Regions from separate parts of the Homo sapiens genome. Here region 2 is linked to region 1. Evidence: promoter capture Hi-C in 16 types of primary human blood cells and fetal thymus (Javierre and others, 2016). All regions are on one chromosome and are shown on one strand. Each heading gives the region's core, a stretch centred on a gene start or on the middle of the fragment in contact. The rest is flanking DNA. Distances are from core to core; before and after follow the strand shown. Region 1 holds the start of RNASEH2B (ribonuclease H2 subunit B). Region 2 overlaps DLEU1 (deleted in lymphocytic leukemia 1).

What was found. The method cuts DNA at HindIII sites, captures the fragments that hold promoters and counts their contacts. A CHiCAGO score of 5 or more calls a contact.
Region 2: a fragment that was not itself captured here is called in contact with the fragment with the promoter of RNASEH2B in region 1 in 1 of 17 cell types (monocytes); the score reaches 5.3 in monocytes.

Annotation. Positions count from the first base shown.
Region 1 is chr13:50,907,766-50,911,528 of GRCh38, forward strand. RNASEH2B (ribonuclease H2 subunit B) reads left to right here and starts at 2,026. Exons shown (of 11, transcript NM_024570.4): 1 at 2,026-2,375. The coding sequence starts at 2,312. RNASEH2B-AS1 (RNASEH2B antisense RNA 1) reads right to left here and starts at 2,947. Exons shown (of 3, transcript NR_046552.1): 1 at 2,718-2,947. RefSeq lists silencers at 1,841-2,270, 2,281-2,520, 2,731-2,780. The HindIII fragment of the contact is 8,311 bases long and covers 1-3,763 here.
Region 2 is chr13:50,278,795-50,282,557 of GRCh38, forward strand. The region is part of intron 2 of DLEU1 (deleted in lymphocytic leukemia 1); the gene reads left to right. Among named protein-coding and RNA genes, the nearest start is that of DLEU2, 160 kb to the left of the region's middle. The HindIII fragment of the contact is 635 bases long and covers 1,579-2,213 here.

The DNA of each region.
Region 1 (3,763 bases), core at 776-3,275:
GCACATGCTTATGACAATGTTAAGTGAGAAAAGCAGACAAAACAGTCTAAATTGTGACAACAACCACAAAAATATACATTAATACAGCCAAGGGCTAGAAAGGATCAGAGAAAAATGAAACAGGTATGTATGTCTGAGCAAGGGAATCATGGGTAACATTTCTCATGTACAGTAGCTCCCCCTATTCGAAGTTTCGCTTTCCAAGGTGTCAGTTACCCCCAGTCGAACTTGGTCCAAAAATATTACACGAAAAATTCCAGAAACAATTCGTAAGTTTTAAATTGTACAGTGTTCTGAGTGGTGTGAAGAAATCTTGCACCATCCAGCTTCGTCCTGCAAAGGACCTGAATTCTACCTTTGTCCAGCGGATCCACACTGCAGAAGGTCCCCTCCTTATGAGTCACTTAGTAGCTGCAAGAGTAGTGATGCTGGCATACTGTGAGAATTGTTCTATTTTATTATTATTGTTGTTCATCTCTTACTGGGCCTAATTTTCAAATTAAACTTTATCACAGATATACATGCAAAGGAAAAAACAGTATATTAGGGTTTGGTACTATTTGCGGTTTTAGGCCTTCACTGGGGGTTTTGGATCCCATCCTACAGGAATAATGGGGTGCTCCTGTAGCTGTTAGTAAGACGATGGTGTGCCTGGGGATTTGTGCTATACACCACAGCATCTTCTACAGTCGTTTTGGGGGAGAGGGAAGATCAGAGCAGTACCAATCTGCTGCTCCTTGCCCCAAAACTGGCAAGAGGCGCCTTTCCTCAGCCAGAAAGGCCTCTTCTCCACCAGCTGTGTCCTGCAATCAACTGCAGCTGTATTGGTCTCACCCCATGGGAAACAGGTTTGAAGTTAAAAACCTTTTCAGAGGGCCGAGATAAATTTAGTGCTGCTAAATTTAACTATCTTCAAGATTAAACATGAAAAGCAAAGTGCATGAGTTATGTATATTATTCTTTCAATTGTGCAAAAATAAGACATTAACTTGTTTTTGCATGGAAAAATTCTGCAAGAATAGAGAAGAAATGTTAACAGTTACCCCTGGGATCTGGGATAAAAGAGATACATCATGCTTTTCTTTAAAAAAAAAAAAAATAGGTTTTTGTGGATTTTTTTGTTTTTGTTTTTTTTGACAGAGTCCAGCTCTGTAGCCCAGGCCAGAGTGCAGTGGTGGGATCTCGGTTCACTGCAACCTCCATCTCCTGGGTTCAAGTGATTCTTGTGCCTCAGCCTCCGTAGTAGCTGGGATTACAGATGTGCACCACCACACCCAGCTAATTTTTGTATTTTCAGTAGAGACGGAGTTTCACCTTGTTGGTCAGGCTGGTCTCCAGCTCCTGACCTCAGGCGATCCGCCCGCCTCGGCCTCCCAAAGTGCTGGGATTACAGGCCTGAGCCACTGCGCCTGGCCCGTGCTTTTCTCTAAAGTATGAAAGGAATATGTACTTTCTTCTTAAAAACCATGTACCAAACAACACTTTTCAATTAAAATGTTATTTTTAAAAGTTTAAATCCCCAAATTTCATGGCTCTAACTTTTTAAACATCACTTTTTAAATAAATGTCTAAGTTTTTAACTCAGTATACAGCGTTCTCCAAAACAACAAATTCATATTCTGAGCCCAAAACTGTGCACCTCTTTTAGTGATGAGGACGGAGTCCAAATTGAGGACATCCCTTGTAGCTCACAATGCACACATATTCTCACATCAATAGCAACACAGAATGCAACTGATGACCAATATATATTCACAAATAATTGAGGACCATGGCTAAGAGTTGCATTCGGATTCCGATGTGACTGCTATTGTCCTTAACACGGACTAGCTCCAGGTGAGTCCCCCGGCCCCGGGGGTGTGGCGGGCGTCACCCGTTGTCCGGGCACACACCCCGCAGACCCAATCCTAGCCCGCTGGCTAGACCATGGAGGGCCGCTGGGTGCAGCCACAGAGCGCGGGGCCCCGGCGACCCCGCCCCGCTCCGCGTCACTCGGCGCCCTGCGGCGCGCGATGAGCACCTACCACTAGCGGAGCCGCGAGGGAGAGGCCGCGGCCCCTTCCCGTTGCCTGCGGCCACCGGCCGGCATTCAGAGCCCCTCGCCTGGCGCTAAATTTAAAAACGTAACACGAGCAGCAGGCTGGTCTCGGAAACGAAACGAAATTCGGTCCCTGGGCCTCCTCCCGGGCGCTGCCGGTCCCTCAGCGCGCCGCGCCACCCGGAACAGACCCTTCTCCCGCCATTTTCGGCGGGGCTGGGAGACTGAGGCCCGCGGCGCTGAGCCTGCGGCGCCCCGGAAGAGGCGGGCGGCATGGCCGCTGGCGTGGACTGCGGGGACGGGGTTGGCGCCCGGCAGCACGTGTTCCTGGTTTCAGGTAAACACGCGCGCCCGGGCGGCGGGGTCGGCCCAAGAACTGGCGGAGCGGCCCGCGACCCCGGGCGCGCCGCCCCCCACCCCGGTGGCTCCCACTACCCGGCCCGGCGCGGGATGGGATTCTCTCTGGGACAGCTGGCCCCGCATTTTGGTCACACGTCATAGCAAGCCGCGGTTTTCAAACCCGGAAGCGCCGAAAAGGACCGAGCGTGTTTCCCGGGCCCTGATCCCCGGTGGCTCGGGTGGGAGGGTGGAAGCCGACTCAGCCTGAGGGGAGCCACGCGGGTTCGCGGTCACCGGTGCGCTGCGGGCCCCGGAGGTTTCTGCCCTTGGTGTCCCCTACCTGGCAGCTGGCCCTGCTTCTGTGATCCTACTGGGTTGGAACCAGGGATCCAGTAGGCTCGAAGTGGCCTCAGACGGTGCGCAGTTTTAAGAAAGCAAAGGGACAGGCCTGCAGTGGCGAGGCAGGAGGGAAGCGGGATGGGAGTCGCGGTTAGGCCAAGGGTAGTTCAAAGCGATTCAGCAGGATGATGACCACAGGAGTGCTGGAGCCGGGCCTTTCAGCCCCCGTGTGGATGATGACCGGCCATCCAGGACATGCGAGGGCTTGGGACAGTGGACAGCCAGTGCCACACAAGGAAGGACCGATTAAATGACACAGTTAAAGGAATTTGGCCTAGGGAGTGCAAGCCAGAAAGGTTTGGTCTTTTTATATATGTAACATTGGAAAAAAGGAACATCTCCTGTTCCCTGTATTAAGTTTTGACTTTAGCTCAGCAAATGCAGTGTTTGTGGCAGTAAATATACTCTGATAACAATATTCTTTCCCAGGAATTTAGAGTTTTATGATGGTTATTGAAAATGTTTACATGACAGGCTGTCAATAATATTTTTTGCCTCTAAAAATAAAACATACATAAAGTGTACGGATTTTAAGTATGCAACTCACTGAACTTTTCATACGTATACACCACCCTAGTAACCATCCCCCAGTTCAAGATGTAGACTGTTTCCAATAACGCCTCATGCCTGTTCCTAGATAGCCCCAGGAACCTCTATGCTGACCTCTGTCACCAGAGATTAGTTTTGCCTGTTTGAATAAGAGTGTACCCTTTGTGTCTGGCTTCTTTCACTCTGAAAGATTCATCCTTGTTGTGAAATTCATTCATGTTGTAGCAGTTGTTTGGTTGGTTGGTTAGTTTTTTCATTGCTGCTTCTGTTTAATTGTATGAGTATCCATACTATGTATCTCTACTGTGGATGGACATTTGGGTTGTTTCCAGTTTGCAACTATTACAAGTTACACTTCTCAGAGCATTCCTTTAGGCGGCTTTTGGTAGACATGGGCACTCATATCTCTAGGGTGTATACCCTGGAGTGGAATGGCTG
Region 2 (3,763 bases), core at 646-3,145, 630 kb before region 1:
TAGTATTTTTAGTAGAGATGAGGTTTCACCATGTTGGCCAGGCTGGTCTCAAACTCCTGACCTCAGGTGATCCGCCCACCTCAGCCTCCCAGAGTGCTGGGATTAGAGGCATGAGCCACCGTGCCCAGCCTGTTCTCTAATTTTTAAAAACTCCAACCAGAACATAAGTCATGAAAAGATGCAGCAAACATTTGAGAGTCAACAAATATTTACTTTGGACCTACTAAATGCTGAACACTGTTCTAGAGTCTGGGGATAGAGCAGAGAATATAATAGCATCCCTGACCTTGTATAACCTACATTCTGGTGAGGAGAGACAGACCATAAGCCAGCAAAACAGAAGTAATAAACTAGCAAGCATATAGATGAGTGAGAAAATTGCATGCATAGACAAACGCTAAAGAGAAGGTTAAATAGGGTGATGTGGTAGAGGGTGACTGGAGGTGGTTTTAGCTTGGTGGTCTGAACAGGTCTCTCTGAGGAGTTGACTTCTGAGTTGAGACCTAAATGATATTCTGGGTAAATGTAGTTTTGGTAGGGCTTTAAAGTATTAGCTGTAGCTCAAGCATGTTCACTGTTTTTGTGAACTATGACATCCATTTAAATGATGTTCAAAGAGGAATGGTGGGACATCTCAAGTCAAACAAACATCCTGAACTCAGTGGATGAAGTCTCCAACAGGTTTCACTCCAGGGCATTTCCATGAAGTTCCACCTCTCCTTCACTTTGCTGTCAAGGCACCAGGCTTTGTTGTGTGCCCTGTAGGGGGTGGGAGTGGAGCACTTTAGTAGGAGTGATTTGTAGTTTCAGCGAAAGTGGAAGCTTCAGAACCTACCCCTCCAATTTGCTGAAGAAGGTGGGACAGAACCAAGGAAAGGCAATAAAACCGTGAACCACAGAAACACCTGCATCACCAAGTACATGCCCCGGGGCCAAAAGGGATGTTAGTGCCACTGGGATCAGATGGGATCAATTTCTCCATGTGCACTGATTCAGTGCTTGCTACACTGCTTCAAGCTAACCTCCCACTCTCACTGTCTCCATTTCAGAACCCAGTTCCTTTTCCCTCTTTCCGTTCATTTCGAGAAGACAATGTCAGAAAACAGAATGACGTATGTGTCCAAAGGCTCAAGGGCTTGGCAAGCGCTGGCTCTAGTTTTTAGCACTTAATTGACAATTATTCATTGCCTCTTGTGATTATTTAATTACACCCCCAACTGAACTTACCATTTTACCCCAGTGCTCCTCCTCTGACTTCACCATTCTATTCTTCCTTCTTTCAAATCCTGACCAGCAGGTCACTCATTTGCAATTCCTACATATTTAAAGCAACGTTCACTCTCCCGATTTCTGACCTTTCAAACACCCTTGTAACTAAGTCCTTGTATTATATTCCATCTGTTTGAAATTTATGGTATGACCTCTGGTTTCTTGATTGTGTGATAATGTAAGCGATTTCTTTCTTCAATGACTTCTTTCTTTTTTACAATTGTGATATATACTTTTATTTCTCATTGATAAATGGTTACAAATCATACTCCTAGGTTTATATAGCACTAACACTTAAACACATTGTAAAGCTTCTGGAAGGCTTATAATACCTTGTGTCTTCCAGCTTTATCTCCCAGACTGGATCTCATTTTTTTCTTTCTACTTTTCTTCCCTTTTTTTTCATAAAAATTGTATATATTTAAAGTGTACAACATGATGTTTTGATATACATAGTAAAGTGATTACTGTAGTCAAAATAATTGATTATCCACCACCTCACATTGTTCCTTTTTTGTCTTGTGGTGAGAGCAATTGAAATCTACTATATTAGCTAATTCCCAGTACGCAATACAATATTGTCACCATTCTGTACATGACATGTCTAGACTTACTCATCCTACACAACTGTAACTTTGTATTCTTTCACCAATAGTGACATTTGTTTCTTGAGTCATCAATTTCTTTCCTTTTTTTCTTAACTTTTATTTAGGTTCGAGGGTACATGTGAACGTTTGTTACATAGGTAAACTCATGTCACGGGGGTTGGTTGTACAGATCATTTCATCACTCAGGTATTATGCTCAGTACCTAACAGTGATCTCTTTTGCCCCTCTTACTCCTCCCACCCTCCACCCTTAACAGACCCCACTGTCCATTGTTTCCTTCTTTGTGTTGATTGATCAATTTAAAACACTTTTTATTGACTCCCTGCCATGAGTAGAAGCTTAAGCTACTTACACAACACCCGTCTGTCCCCTCTCTTCCAAATTTTGGTAATCATTATTTTAATTTTTCAGTGTTTCTTTAAAAAATATACCTGTAAACCTCAAATTTTGTGCAATCAACTTTAGAGATGGTCTCTTGACTCCTCACCATGTTAGATGAGACCATCCATATTCTTATCCTTCCTTCTAACTCTTCCATATTATCCCGCCTCCCATCTTCTGACTATGAACTTTCATTTCTTTAATTATCAAAGTTGTTAACATTGACATTTTGTTCTATAACAATTTAAAATCTTGTATAGTAGATGGATTCTAAAGCTAAAAGCTATTTTATTATTATGCGTGAGAATAACATGTTGCCATTTCACAGCCAAAAATTATATTTTCTAAGATTGTATTTCCACAAGCTAAGGTTATGTTTTCTTCTCTTTATGTCTAGCATCACAAGCTCTTGACCCTCAAGAGACACTATGCTCACTATACAGGTCAAAAGGATAAATGCTTTTTATTTTCTTATAATTTATAAACTATTCAAAATCACGCAGTATTTTAGTATTTTAGTTTGTTTCGTATTTGGGCCATGATTTTTTTAAGATAGTGTTTTTCTTGGAGGTTCTAAATGTGAATTCGTTATTGAGATAGGACACTTCTTTCTCTCTCTCTTTTTTTTTTCTTTTTTTCTTTTTTTTCTTTTTACCATGTCACTAATAACAAGCATCATTGTCATTCTGTACATTTGTACATTGCTTGGAAGCTGTAAGTTTTTTCTTGGACATACCATACATGGAATGTGCTGACATCCTGTTCCAGTTGGACCAATTGCTTTCTCAGCCTCACACACAGATATCATCCTAGAATTTCTTTTTATTGGACACTTGGTTGAGTTTCATTCTTTTTTTTTTATTTTTTTTTGAATTTCACTCTTTGTGTTTAGCTGTCATTTTTCTGGAGTAAATCCTCAAGTAATTTTCTCATAAAAATTGCATAGAGGGTAAACACTCTGTATATTCTCTGTGCAAAATTGTTATGATGATGTATGTAGGCATTGCCATTTTGCTCTGCTTAGATGGTCTTCCTTCTGGGTATCTGCTATAAAAGGAAGGCTGACTTGAGCTCTGTGTTTGAGGGTGGAATATGTTGATTGTCAGGCTTCACTCTATGGGAAGCTGGTAGGGAGTCAGCCTTTAGACAAAGAGGGGCCTTGGCATTCTTGAATGAGGAGGGCCACTGGAGTGTCATTGTCTCCTAAGCAGCCTTAATTCTTCCCAGGAGGTTGACTGCACTTCTTGAGAGAGGAGTCCTCTAGTTGCTGTTTTGTCTGGGGGAGATGAAGGTGAAGACAGATGTCCAGTGAGCCTCTGGCTTTGTTCTCCTCTTTGCCATGCCCATGCCAGGCTTGCCAGCAAACAGCCTGCAGGGCTAGTTATCTTCCTTCTGTGTGGCTCTTCTCACCCTTCTCTCAGTGTCACTCATCCTCACTTTTCATTTGCTGTCTTCTCTACTCCTCACTTGTTTGCTTCTCATACAATGTTTAAGCATATTTCTGC